3 separate regions of the Homo sapiens genome follow, and regions 1 and 2 are each linked to region 3. Evidence: promoter capture Hi-C in 16 types of primary human blood cells and fetal thymus (Javierre and others, 2016). All regions are on one chromosome and are shown on one strand. Each heading gives the region's core, a stretch centred on a gene start or on the middle of the fragment in contact. The rest is flanking DNA. Distances are from core to core; before and after follow the strand shown. Region 1 has its middle 14 kb from the start of PAGE2B. Region 2 overlaps PFKFB1 (6-phosphofructo-2-kinase/fructose-2,6-biphosphatase 1). Region 3 holds the start of TSR2 (TSR2 ribosome maturation factor).

Region 1 (5,014 bases), core at 1,036-3,535, 620 kb before region 3:
AAAAAAAGTCATTCATCATGACCAAGTGGGATTTAACCCAGGGATGCAAGGATGGTTCAACATATACAAATCAATTAATGTGATAAATCATATCAACAGAATGAAGGCCGAAAACCATATGATCATTTCAATTGATGCTGAAAAAGCATTTGGTAAAATTCAACATCCCTTCATGATAAAAACCCTCAAAAAACTGGATATAGAAGGAACATATCACAAGATAATAAAACTATATACAACAGGTCCATAGCTAGTATCATATTGAATGGGGAAAAACTGAAATCCTTTCCTCTAAGAACTGGAACAAGGATTCTCATTTTCACCACTGTTATTCAACATAGTACTGGAAGTCCTACCTAGAGCAATCAGACAAGAGAGAAATAAAGGACCTCTAAAAGGGGAAGGAAGGAGTCGAATCATCCTTGTTTGCAGAGATGTGATTTTATGTTTGGAAAAACCTAAAGGCTCCACGAGAAAACTAATAAACTGATAAACAAATTCAGGAAAATTTCAGGATACAAAATCAACATACAAAAATCAGTAGCATTTCTATATGCTAACAGCGAACAATCAGAAAAAGAAATTTTAAAAAGTAATCCCATTTACAATATACACAAAATACAATACTAGGAATTTGCTTAACCAAAGAAGTAAAAGATCTCTACAATAAAAACTATAAAACATTGATGCAAGAAATTAAATGTTAATGGATTGGGAAAATCAATATTTTTAAATGTCCATACTACCCAAAACAATCTACAGATTTGATGCAATCCCTATCAAAATACCAATGATATTCTTCATATAAATAGAAAAAAACTCTAAAATTTATATGGAACCACAAAAGACACAGAATAGCCAAAGCTATACTGAGCAAAAAGAACAAACATGGAAGAATCATATTACCTGACTTTAAATTACACTACAGAGCTATAGTAACCAAAACAACACAGTACTGGCATAAAAACAGACACACAGACCAATGGAACAGTATAGAAAACCCAGAGATAAATTCACACATCTACAGCAAACTCACTTTTGACTAAGTTCTCAAGAACATACACTAGTGAAAGGACAGTCTCTTTAATACATAGTGCTGTGAAAACTGGATATCCACATGCAAAAGAATGAAACTACACCCCTATCTCTCACCATATACAAAAATCAAATCAAAATGTATTAAAGACTTAAATTATAAGACCTCAGACTATGAAACCACCAAAGGAAAACATTGGGGAACCTCTCTAGGACACTGGACTGCACAAAGATTTCGTGAGCAATATCCCACAAGCACAGGCAACCAAAGCAAAAATGGACAAATTGAATTACATCAAGTTTAAAAGCTTCTGCACAGCAAAGGAAACAATCAACAAAGTGAAGCGGCAACCCACATAATGGGACAAACATTTGCAACTTACCCATCTGACAAGGAATTAATAATCAGAATACATAAGGAGCTCAAAGAACTCTATAGGAAATAAATCTAATCGTCTCATTTAAAAATGGGCAAAAGACCTGAATGGACATTTCTCAAAAGAAGACATACAAATAGCAAACAGGTATATGAAAAGATGCTCAATATAATTGATCATCAGAGAAATGCATATTAAAGCTACAATGAGATATCTTCTCAACCCAGTTAAAATGGCTTTTACCTGAAAGTCAGGCAATGATAAATGCTAGTGAGGATGTGGAGAAAAGGGAACTCCCCTGCACTGTTGGTGGCTATGTAAATTAGTACAACCATTATGGAGAACAGTTTGGAGGTTCCTCAAGAAAACTAAAAATAGAGCTACCATACGATCCAACAATCCTATTCCCAGGTATATACCCAAAAGAAAGAAAATCAGGATAACGAAGAGATATGTGCATTCCCATGTTTACAGCAGCACTATTCTCAATATCCAAGATTTGGAAGCAACCTAAGTGTCCATCAACATATGAATGGATAAGGAAAACGTGGTACTTATACACAATGGAGTACTATTCAGCCATAAAACGAATGAGATCCAGTCATTTGCAGCAACATGGATGGAACTGGAGGTCATTATGTTAAGTGAAATAAGCCAGTTACAGAAAGACAAACTTCACATGGTCTCACTTATTTGTGACAGCTAAAAATTAAAATAATTGAACTCATGGAGATAGAGTAGAAGGGTGGTAACCAGAGGCTAAGAAGTGTAGTGGTGAAGTGGCAGGGAACTGGGGATGGTTAATGGGCGCAAAAATATAGTTAGAAAGAATGAATAAGACCTAATATTTGCTAGCACAACAGGGTGACTACAGTCAATAATAATTTAATCATACATTTTAAAATAACTAAAAGAGTATAATTAGATTGTTTGTAACACAAAGGATAAATGCTTGAAGTGATGGATACCCCATTTACCCTGATGTGATTATTACACTTTGCATGCCTGTAACGAAATATCTCATGTAACCCACAAATACATATACCTACTATATACTCACAAAATTAAAAATAAAAAATATTTAAAAAGAACAATGGACACTAGGGTCTGTTTGAGAGTAGAGAGCAGGAGGAGGGTGAGGATTGAAAAACTACCTATCAGGTACTATGCTGATTACCTGGGTGACAAAATTATCTGTACGCCAACCCCTACGACGCATAACTTACCCATGTAACAAACCTACAAATGTACCCCTTGAACCTGAAATAGAAGTTGCAAAGAATAAGAAAAGAGAAACAGGTGTTACAAATCACTATTTTAAAAGAAATCATATGAAAATAAAGTAGCTCATTCCTTTATTCTTCTTTCTCTTATACATTATATTGTGATTTTATAGAATATTTGGAGCCCACTGGACTTTCACTAGCAGCTACCCTCTGTACACCCTTACCATCCCACAGTTCCTCTCTTTCAAATAAGAAGACCATGTGATTTACTAAATAATTTTAAAGTAATAATATAATATTTTGAGATGTTAATTTACATTTCTTTTTCTGTCTGAGTTTCCTTGTGTTCATTGCCTCCCTACTCCCAACAGTTGAACAGTAGTGATATATTTCTACATGTCTTAGCCTAGTCAGGAATAAATAGACACACTTTTCAATTTGGTTATTGAAAACTTACTGAAAATATAATTTACTAAAACAAAAAAAATACACACAAAAAAAACCAGAGATCAACTCAAAATGGATTAATGACTTAAATATAAGACCTAAAACTGTAAAAGTACTGAAAGAAAACATAGAGGAAAGCTTATTAGCATCTGTCCTGGCAAAGATTTTTGGGATATTACCCCAAAAGCATAGGCAACAAAAGCAAAAATAGACAAATGGATTGCATCAAAGTAAAAAGCTTTTGCATGGAAAAAGAAACAATCGAGTGAAGATGCAACCTGCACAATGAGAGAAAATATTTGCAAACTACATATCTGATAACGGGTTAATATCCAAAATATATAAGGAAATCAGACAACTCAATAGCAAGAAAATAAATAACCTGATTTAAAAATGGGCAAAGGACCTGAATAGATATTTTTCCAAAGGAGACATCCAAATTGCTGACAGTTACATAAAAATGTGCTCAATATCACTAATCATCAGAGAAACACAAATTAAAGCCACAATGATATATCACCTCACACCCATTAGAATATCTACCATCATTAAAAAACAAAAGATAACAAGTGTTGGGGGGATATTGAGCACTATTAGTGGGAATGTAAACCAGTTCAGCTATTATGAAAAACGGTAAGGAGATTCCTCAAAAAATTAAAAATAGAGTTATTGTATGATTCAGCCATTTCACTTTTAGCTATATACCCAAAGGAAGTAAAGTCACTATGTCAAAGACATACCTGCACTTCCATGTTCATTGCAGTATTATTCACAATAGCCAAGATATGGAATCAGCCTAAGTGTCCATCAATGAATCAATAGATAGGGAAAATGTGGAGTATACACACACAGAGACGGGCACACACAATGGAATACTATTCAGCTTTAAGAAGGAAGAAAATCCTTTCATTTGCAACAATCCACATAAACCTGGAGGACATTATGCTAAGCGAAGTAAACCAGACACAGAAAGGCAAATGCTGCATGATCTCATTTATATGTGGACTCTAAAAAAATCTAATTGATAGAAACTGAGAGTAGAATGGTGGTTACCAGGGGTTGGCAGGAGGTTGTAGGAAATGGGGAAATGTTGGTCAAAGGGTTCAAAGTTTCAGTTAGGAAGGAGAAATAAGTTATAGAGCTCTATTGTACAGTATGGTGACTGATTATAGCAAATTATAATGTATCATATACTTGAAATTGCTAAAGAAGTAGATTTTAAATGTTCTTACTGCAATAGATATTATATGAGGCAATGGATACATTAGTTAGCTTGATTTAATCATTCCACATTGTACACATATGTCAAAACATCAAGTTACACCTCATATATATATAATTTGTATTTTTCAATTAAAAATTAATTAGCTAATTAATTAATTGAAGTGCTACTTGAGAAGCTCTAACTTCTATTACTCCAGAATATGACTGTAATTGGATATCAAGCCTATAAAGATGTGATTAAGTAAAAACGAAACCTTTAGGTGGCCCTAATCCAATCTAACTGATGCTTTTATAAGAAGAGGAAATTTGTATGCACAGAGAAACAGCAGGGGTGCATAGGTACAGAAGAAAGACTATGTAAGGACACAGTGAGAAGGTGACTATCTGAAAGCCAAAGAGAGAGAGACCTCAGAAGAAACTAAGCCTATATATACCTCGATCTTGGACTTCCAGCCTCCAGAACTGTGAGAAAATGAATGTCTGTTGTTTAAGTCACCCATTCTGTGGTATTTTGTTATTGCAGCACTAGCAAACTAATATACCATGCTAATGTCCCACGCTAATTTCATCAGATTTAGCTTCTCAATCCTGAAGGCATTCAATATTTCTCCTTTTTTTTTGTGAAGAGAGGACTGAATGGAGAAATGAGTGCTCAATTAGTGGGTGGAGGGCAGTTAATTTATATATATATAATGGTCCTTTTTG
Region 2 (4,971 bases), core at 131-2,630, 550 kb before region 3:
GAATTTATTAATTTGAGTTTTCTCTTTTTTTTCTTGGTCAGTCTCACTAAAGGTTTGTCAAGTTTATTAATTTTTTCAAATAACCAACTTTTGATTTTGTTGATTTTTTTCTAATGTTTTCCTAGTCTCTGTTTTATTATTTTCACCTCTAATCCTTATTATATCCTTCTTCTGTTTCCTTTAGGTTCCCATATTTGTGAATTTCCCAAAGTTCTCTCTGTTATTAATTTTTTATTTTACTCCATTATGATTGGAGAACATACTTTATATGATTTCCATTCTTCCAAATTTATTGAAGCTTCTTTTATGGCCTAGAATATTGTCTCTCTTGGAGCATGTTTGATGTACACTTTGGAAAAATGTATAGTCTGCTGTTTGGAGATGGAGTGTTTTACAGATGTTTGTTATTACTACTTTGTGTTGAAGTCCTCTATTTCCCTGTTGTTGATCTTCTATGTAGTTGTTCTATCCATTATTGAAAGAGTGGTCTTGAAGTTTCCAACTATTGTCAGTGGATTGTCTATTTCTCCCTTCAATTCTGCCAGTTTTGCTTCATGTATTTGGCAGCTCTGTTGTTTAGGCATATACGTTTATACTTGTGATATATTCATTATGGATTGACCCTTTTGTCATTATTGAATGTCCCTATATATCTCTAGTAATGTTTTTGAACATCCATTTTGTCTCATATTAGTATGGTCACTCCAAATTTCTTGTGGTTGTTGTTTGCATGATGTATTACTTACGTTATTTTACTTTTAATCTATTTGCTTCTTTCTCTTTTTTCTTCTTTCTTTTTTAGAATAGAGATGGAGTCTCACTATGTTGCCCAGGCTGGTCTCAAACTTCTGGACTCAAGGGATCCTCCCACCTTGGTTTCCCAAAGTGCTCGGATTATAGGCGTGAGCCACCAGGCCTGCCTTGTATCTTTCAGTCTAAAACCTATCTTCTGTAGGCAGCATGCAGTTGGATCTTGTTTGTTTGTATTCAGTTAGATATTCTCTACCTTTTGATTGGGTTGATTAATCTGTTCTGATTTAAAATCATTATTGATATAGTTGGTTTAAATATGCAGTTTTATTTTTCCATAGAGCTCATGTCTTTTTCTCTCTATTCTTCCTTTACTGCTTTCTTTTGCATTAAATGAATTATTCTAGTTTAACTTTTTAATTCATTTGATCATTTTTTATTATATATTTTTTAGGTATATTCTTCGTGGTTGTTCTAGGGCTTTTCACATACATCATACATCAGTGTGCTTCAGATTTGTACTAATTTAATTTCAATGAGATATAAAAATTTTACTCATATATAGCTCTCTTTCACCTTCCTTTTTGAGCTATTATAATATATATATTATATCTGTATATGCTAAAAACTAAATAATACATCATTATAAGTATTATTTTATATAATTTTATGTTTTAAGGAAGCTGAGAAAATTAAGGAGAACATGTATGTATTTATTATTTTCTATTATTTTCATTTGTTCCTGTGGGTTTGAATTACCTTCTGGTATCATTTCCTTATTTCTATATAACTCTTTGCTTTGTGACTTGGCTAGGCTATTTTTAAAGTATGTTTCCCTGCAGTGTGAACCCTTCAGTGTTGCTTCTTGGAGTGCATAGTTTTTGGCTTGCAGGTAATTTGGGCTTTCTTTGACTTTTTCCCAGTCTCTCTATTAAGCTGTCAGCCCACATGGGGGTATTACACTCTAGGCTCCACTAATTACTAGCTGAATGCTGTATTTTGTTTTTGTTTTTTGTTTGTTTGTTTGTTTGGCAGTGTCCTGAAGCATGCATTGCCCAGCAGCCTTATCTAATTAAACTCTAGCAGGAGTAGTTTGTGAAGTAAGTCTTGGAGGTTTCTTCATACCCCAGAAGGGCTCTTCTTACCTGTCCCTCTCTCTCTTGTTCTCTCTGATGAACAAGCTGGCCTATGTTGCTGTTAGTTAAGTGAACTTGTAGTTTTTGAGAACATCCTTGGGCTTGAGCTTCTTTGTACTATGTTAAAAATAAAGTTAGTTTTGGGGGGAGAGTTTCAGAGCTCTCTCATCTTATGAATTTCTTCTCTCCATGGGTATACTGTCTGAGCACTGTTCTGGGTGCTGGGCGAGACAGCAGCTTCTGGTCTTAGTTTGCCTATCCTGGTGTGGAACCTACCCTGTGAGCAAGATGGAATGAGGGTAATCAGGACCTCAGTATTCTTAGCCTATTGCACCTGGTATATAGCCTCCATTCTATGAGTAAAAACTGGGAGGAGGAAGGGATCCTCCAACCTCTTAACCACACTTGCCAGGAATTTAGCCTCTGCAATTCTGAGCTGAAGGGAATGCTAAATGCTAGCTCTCTGCTCCTTCCAGTAAGATGCCAAAGTATTGATGGGACATTCTCTCCAAGACGAAAGGGAGCTTCATCTTGGCTATACACACCTTAAGTGGAGCTTCTATCAAGCTAAGCTTGGAGCCAGTAGTGAGGGGACAGTAGTAAGGTCGGGAACAGTAGCATGGCACATGTATCAAAGACTGTGTTCTTACCACATTTCAGTAGATTTTCTTGAATAAAAATATCTTCATGTACTGTATTCCATTAAGACAATTTCCAGAGATTTTAAAAGGTTGTTGTGTTGTAATTTTGCCAGCTGAGCTTGTTTTATTAGAGAATGGGTCTTTAGAGCTCCTCATGCTGTCATGCCAGAAATGAAAGTCTCAAGATTGTCTTTGTGTGTTGATCTTGTATCTTGCAGCCTTGATGAACTCACTTGTTAGTTCGAGGAATTTCTGTAGTTTAGGGGGATATTTCTATGTAGACAATCATGACATTTGCAAATAGGGATTTTTTAAAAATTATTTTCCAAACCGTATGCCTTTTATTTCCTTTTATTGCCTTATTGCAGTGGTTAGAACTTCTAGTACTATGTCAAAAGAGTGGAGAAGGTGGAAATCCTTACATTAGTCCTGATGTTAGGGGGAAAGCATTTAGTCTTTCACTTTTAAGTATAATGTTGGTGATAGTTTTTGTTTGCTTTATAGAAGTTTCTTATCAAGTTGAACTTAAACAAATTTACAAGAAAAAAACAACCCTATTAAAAAGTGGGCAAAGGACATGAACAGACACTTTTCAAAAGAAGACACACATACAGCCAACAAGCATATGAAAAAATGCTCAACATCACTGATCATTAGGGAAATGCAAATCAAAGCCACAGTGAGATACCATCTCACACCAGTCAGAATGGCTATCATAAAAAAGTCAAAAAATAACAGATACTGGTGAGATTGCAGAAGAAAGTGAATGTTTATACACTGCTGGTGGGAATGTAAATTAGCTCAACCATGTGGAAAGCAGTGTAGTGATTCATCAAAGAGCTAAAAACAGAACTACCATTCAACCCAGCAATCCCATTACTGGGTATATACCCAAGGGGATATAAATCGTTCTATTATAAAGACACATGCAGACATATGTTCATTGCAGCACTATTCACAATACCAAAGACATGGAATCAACCTAAATGTCCATCAGTGATAGACTGGATAAAGAAAATGTAGTATGTGTATGCCGTGGAATACTATGCAGCCATAAAAAAGAATGACATCATGTCCTTTGCAGGGACATGGATGCTGGAGGCCATTATACTTAGCAACCTAAAAGGAACAGAAAACCAAATACTGCATGTTCTCCCTTGTAAGTGGGAGCTAAATGATGAGAACACATGGACATAGAGGGGAACAACACACATTTGAGACCTACCTGAGGGTGGAGGGTGGGAGAAGGGAAAAGATCAGGAAGAATAACTAATGGGTGCTAGTTAATAGGTAATAGGTACACCTGGGTGACAAAATAATCTGTACAACAAACTCTTGTGACATTAATTTATCTCACTAAGAAACTTGCACATGTACCTCTGAACTTAAAATAAAAAATAAAAATATAAAATCTTAAGCTTAACCATTCAGAAACCACCAACTAACCTCTAACTATGGACTTTCTACTTTAAGCAATCAAATATTTATTTCGTCTTTCTTCTGAGAACACCTTATAAAAGTTTTCTCTTGATCCCCCTCAGTGGAGCCCTGAACTGCTTGTGTATTGTGCTTCCCAATTCACAAATTGCTGAATGCTCAAACTCATTAAAATTATTTAAAGAAAGGAGTGCCTATCAAGTTTAGGTAATTCATCTCTATTCCTAACTTGCTGAAAGTTTTTATCATTAATAGGTTTTATGAAGTGCTTTGTCAGTATGTATTTATTTTTCTTCTTTAGTTTGTTGATAGGGTGGATTACATTAATTGATTTTTTGAATTTTATTCTAGTCTTGCATACCTGTACTAAATCCCACTTAATCATTGCATATACAGTCATCCCTCAGTATCTGCAGAGGATTGGTTCTAGGAACCCCTGCAGATACCAAAATCCATGAATGCTCAAGTCCCTTTTATAAAATGGCCTAGTGTTTGCATATAACTTACACATATCCTCTCATTTACTTTAAATCATCTGTAGATTATACCTAACACAATGTAAATGCTATGTAAATGGTTGTTATACTGTATTGCTTTTTATTTGTAGTGTTTTATTCTTGTTATTTTTATTGTTTTTAAAAGTATTTTCTATCTGCTGTTGGTTGAATCTGCAGATGTGGAACCCACAGATATGGAGGACTGACTGTAATTATTTTCATGTAATGTTGGATTCTGTCTGCCAATATTTTGTTGAGGATTTTTTCATCTAAGTTTATGACAGAGTGGACTATAGAGTTTTTGGGTTTTTGGTAATTCATTTGTCTGGTTTTGATATCAGGGTAATTCTGGCCTCATAAAATTAGTTGAAAATATTCCCTCCTCTTCTTATTTCTTTGAAAATGTTGTTTAAAATTTGCATTAATTCTTCTTTAAAAGTGTTACAGACTTTTGAAGTAAACACATTTGGGTCTGGAGATTTCTATTTCTGGAGATTTTATGTTGAACTA
Region 3 (4,974 bases), core at 152-2,651:
CATGTCTTATGCTTTTCAAGGGGGCTTCCCACACCCCAGCTTCATTCTCTACCACTCCTCCACCCCCCACGCACACACGCCCATACTCCAATACTGAGCTCCCTGCTACTTTCCAAATATAACACATTATACCCTCATGCCACAGAACTTGAGTGTTGCTCTCTCTGCTTCCCCCACCTAGTTAACTCCTTCTCACTAAGACCCAGCCCAATTCACCACCTCCACTAAGAAGCTGTCTCCCCATCCTGTTACCCCATGCACCCTGAGCTCCTCTTTATCAGAAAATCTATCAATGTTGTAACTATTTACGTGTGTGGATCCTCAATGGATAGTATACTTTCTTGAGAGAGATGACTCTGCCTAATGTCATCTCCAAAGCTAGAAATTGAATGAAGATTTTTTTAAAAACCATACTATGCAACAGGCCCTCTACTGGGCCTCTTGTTCTTGTATATCCCTCAAGACGAGCCTACAGTGTAGATCTTTGCTGTCCAAACAGCCACAGGTGGTTACTGAGCACTTGAAATATGGCTAGGCCAAATCGAAATGTGCTAAAACTGTAAAATACCAGATTTTGAAAACTTAATACTAAAAAATGTAAAATATCTCAATGTTTTATACTGACTACATGTTGAAATATTTCATACACACCGAGTTTACTAACATTGATTTCATCTGCTTTTTGCTTTATTAAAGTGGCTACTAAAAAATTTTAAATTATATGTGACTAGCATAATATTTCTACTGTACAGCGCTCTGGTGGATACTTTTATACGCATTTTAGAAACTAGGAAACTGAGTCTCAGGGAGGTAAACTGCCTTGTCCAGAGTAATCCCACGAGTCAGTGGTACAGCCCGTAAAGCACTGGAATCCAGGATTCTGATTCTAAAAGCTGAATTCATTCCACCTCACCTTTAGGTACCAATCCACAACTGCTCGAGAGGAAATGCAGGCTCTGCGGGATGGGGCTCCTCCTCTCCACACCCCCACACAGGCGGGTCGCGGCGCCTCACATTCACTCACCATTGCGCATGAAGTAATCCTCCACTGCACCCCCCAGCCACTTGGCCTTCTCCTGGCTGTGCACACCCCCGAAGCCATTCTCCACAGCGATCTGTAAACACAGGTCCAAGCCCACCAAGTCAGCTTGGGAGCAGACCTGGAGTAGCCTGGAGGCCGCTTACGCCGCCCAGCCAACTCCTCTTATGCCGCCTAGCCAAGCCTCAGGCACCTAGCCCAACCAACTCCTGTTCTGCCCCGGGCCCTAACCTTGACCTTGCCCTGGCCCTGGCCCCACTGACCTGCAAGGCCGGCCAGGCCTCCAGGGCCGCGCAGACCCCAGCCCGGAAAAGAGCTCGCGCATCTTCTGCAGCGCCCGCCATTATCCGGCCCCAGTCCACGTGACGTCCCGGCGGCCCAATCCCTCTGTAGCTCGGCCCAGGCAGAACGAGACGCAAGCCGAGCCTGAGAACACAGGATTCTCTTTTCCGCAGACCTGGCAGCAAGACTAGAGCAAAAGAAAAATCTGTCAGAGCGATCGATGACACCACCAGAGTTACTCACTTAAATCAAAGGACACCAGACCTGAAGGACGTGTGGGGCCATGGTTTCCGGATCCGTGGGTACTGCGGAGGAAATATGTGGGGAACTTATTACAGATACAGATTCCAGGCCCTGGGGCAGAGGACTCAGTGAGTATAGCCTTAAAAATCTGCATTTAAAAAAAGCATCCTAACATCTGTATAGAATACTGCAACCAACAACAGTAAAATACAATCAGCTCTCCCTATGGGGGGCAGTCCACGTCCGTGAATTCAACTAACCTCAGATGGAAAATATTCAGGAAAAAATTGCATCTGCATTGAACATGTGTATACTTTTTTTCTTGACATTATTCTCCTAAACAGTACAGTATAACAGCTATATACATAGCATTTACACTTTATTAGGCATTATAAGTAACCTGGAAATTATTTATTTATCTATTTTTTTGAGACCGAGTGTCACTCTGTGGCCCAGGCTGGAGTGCAGTGGCGCCATCTCGGCTGACTGCAACCTCCGTCTCCTGGTTTCAAGCAATTCTCGTGCCTCAGCCTCCCGAGTACCTGAGATTACAGGTGCCCACCACCACTCCCAGCTAATTTTTGTGTTTTTAGTAGAGACAGGGTTTCGCCATGTTGCCCAGGCTGGTCTCGAACTCCTGGGTTTAATCCACTTGCCTCAGCCTCCCAAATTGCTGGGATTATAGGCGTGAGTCACATCTGGAAATGATTTAAAGTATACAGTAGAATATTCATAGGTTATACGCAAATACTATGCCATTTTATATCAGGGACTTGAGCATCTATGAATTTTGGTATCCTCCGGAGGTCGTGGAACCAGTCTCCCACGGATACCCAGGGATAACTGTACATGTTTTTCTGAAGTACACAAGAACATTCTCCAGAACAGATCATACACTAGGCCATACAGTAGGCCTCCATAGATTTAACAGGATTGAACATACAAAGTATGTTGTCTGACCACAATGGAAAGAAGTTAAAAATCAGTAAAAAGAAACTTACAAAATTCACAAATATATGGAAATTAACACACTCCTAAGCAATAAATGGGTCAAAGAAAAAAATCACAAAGCAAATTAGAAAACACTTTTAAATGAATGAAAACAAAAACATAAAAAAATGCATGAGATGCAGCTAAAGCAAAACTTAGAGGGAAATCTTTAGCTGTAAACATGCATATCTAAAAAGAAGAGCCGGACATGGTGGCTCATGCCTGTAATCATAGCACTTTGGGAGGTTGATGCGGGAGGATGGCTTGAGCTCAGGAGTTCAAGACCAGCCTGGGCAACATAGTGAGACCCCATCTCTAAAAACAATTTTAAAAATTAGGCCAGGTGTGGTGGCTCACGCTTGTAATCACAGCACTTTGGGAGGCCAAGGCAGGCAGATCACTTGAGGTCAGGAGTTCGAGACCAGCCTGGCCAAGATGGTGAAACCCCGTCTCTACTAAAAATACAAAAATTAGCCAGGTCTGGTGGCAAGCACCTGTAATCCCAGCTACTTGGGAGGCTGAGGCAGGAGAATGGCTTGAACCCGGGAGGCGGAGGTTACAGTGAGCCGAGATGGTGCCATTGCACTCCAGCCTGGGAAACAGAGTGAGACTCTGTCTCAAACTAAATAAATAAATAAATTTGAAAACTAGGCCAGGCATGGTGGCTCACACCTATAATTCCCGCACTTTGGGTGGGCAGATCACCTGAGGTCAGGAGTTTGAGACCAGCATGGTCAATATGAACAAACCCTGTCTCTACTAAAAATGCAAAAGTTAGCCAGGCATGGTGACACACACCTGTAATCCCAGCTACTTGGGAGGCTGAAGCACGAGAATCGCTTGAACCCGGTAGGCAGAGGTTGCAGTGAGCTGAGATCACTCCACTGCACTCCAGCCTGGGCGACACAGTGAGACTCTGTCTCAAACAAACAAACGAACAAACAAAATTAGATGGGCATAGTGGCATATGCGTGTAGTACCAGCCACTCAGGAGGCTGAGGTGGGAGGATTGCTTGAGCCTGGGAGCTCAAGGCTGCAGTGAGCCGTGATTGTGCCACTGCACTCCAGCATGGGGGACAGAGCAAGACCCTGTCTCAAAAAAATAAAAAATGAAAGAATGATATCAAATTAATAACCTACACTTCCACTTCACAAAACCAGAAAAAGAAGAGCAAAGTAATCCCAAGGCAAGCATAAGAAAGGAAATAATAAATAATAGAACAGAAATAAATGAAATAGAGAATTGAAAAACAATAGAGAAAAGAAAAAACAGTGAAGCCAAAAGTCAGTTGTTGTTTTTTGTTTGTTTGTTTGTTTGTTTTGAGATGGAGTCTGGTGCTGTCACCCAGGCTGAAGTGCAGTGGTGCAATCTCAGCTCACTACAACCTCTGCCTCCCAGGTTCAAAGGAGTCTCCTGCCTCAGCCTCCAGAGTAGCTGGGATTACAGGCATATGCCACCATGCCCCGTTAATTTTTGTATTTTTAGTAGAGACAGGGTTTCACCATGTTGGCCAGGCTGGTCTTGAACTCCTGACCTCAAGTGAGCTGCCCACCTCAGCCTTCCCAAGTGTTTGGATTACAGGCGTGAGCCACCGGACCTGGGCGGTTATTTTTTTTTCAGAGATGAAGTCTTTTTTTGTTGCCCAGGCTGGAATGCAGTGGCACAAACATTGCTCACTGCAGCCTCAAACTCCTGGGCTCAAAGGATCCTCCTGCCTCTGCCTCCTGATTAGCTGGGACTACAGGAATAGGCCACCATGCCTGGCTAGTGTGTGTGTGTGTGTGTGTGTGTGGTTGTGTGTGTGTGTGTGTGTGTGTGTGTGTGTGTGTGTGTGTGTGTTGGGAGGGGGTGTCTCACTTTGTTGCCCAGGCTGGTCTTGAACTCCTGGTTTCAAGCGATCCACCTGCCTCGCCTCTCAAAATGCTGGGATTACAGGTGTGAGCAAATGCAACTGGCCAAGTCAGTTATTTGAAAAGATCAACAAAATTTACAAACCCTTAGCTAGACTGAGGAAGAAATAAAAGAAAGAAGACTCAAATTACTGAAATCAGGAACGAAAGAGGACGTATAATTACCGACCAGTCAAAAAAGACCACATATTGTATGATACCATTTATATGAAATATACAGAATAGGTAAATCTATAGAGACAGAAAATACATGAATGGTTGCCCAGGGCTTGGATGGGGAAAGAATAGAGTGTGACTTCTAAATGGCTTCAGGGCTACTTTTGGGGGTGTCGAAAATGTTCTAAAAATTAGACGAGGTAATGGTTGCTGTTATGAGCTAAATTGTATCCACCACCCCCCAAATTCATATGTAGAAACCCTAACCCCCAGTACCTCAGAATGTGACTGTATTGGGAGATAGAGCCTTTAAAAAGGTAATTAAGATAAAATGAGGTTGCATGGGTGGGCCC

Evidence for each region. Contacts are between HindIII fragments. The CHiCAGO score rates a contact against its expected background, and 5 or more counts as called.
Region 1: a contact is called between a fragment that was not itself captured here and the fragment with the promoter of TSR2 in region 3, in 3 of 17 cell types (fetal thymus, M2 macrophages and M0 macrophages). The highest score is 6.6, in fetal thymus.
Region 2: a fragment that was not itself captured here is called in contact with the fragment with the promoter of TSR2 in region 3 in 1 of 17 cell types (fetal thymus); the score reaches 5.9 in fetal thymus.

Annotation. Positions count from the first base shown.
Region 1 is chrX:55,058,920-55,063,933 of GRCh38, reverse strand. It overlaps a transcript of PAGE2B not described here. Among named protein-coding and RNA genes, the nearest start is that of PAGE2B, 14 kb to the left of the region's middle. The HindIII fragment of the contact is 1,880 bases long and covers 1,346-3,225 here.
Region 2 is chrX:54,982,121-54,987,091 of GRCh38, reverse strand. The region is part of intron 1 of PFKFB1 (6-phosphofructo-2-kinase/fructose-2,6-biphosphatase 1); the gene reads left to right. Among named protein-coding and RNA genes, the nearest start is that of PFKFB1, 9.6 kb to the left of the region's middle. The HindIII fragment of the contact is 2,160 bases long and covers 301-2,460 here.
Region 3 is chrX:54,436,831-54,441,804 of GRCh38, reverse strand. TSR2 (TSR2 ribosome maturation factor) reads right to left here and starts at 1,401. Exons shown (of 5, transcript NM_058163.3): 1 at 1,303-1,401; 2 at 1,025-1,115. The coding sequence starts at 1,383. RefSeq lists an enhancer at 1,634-1,683. The HindIII fragment of the contact is 25,574 bases long and covers 1-4,974 here.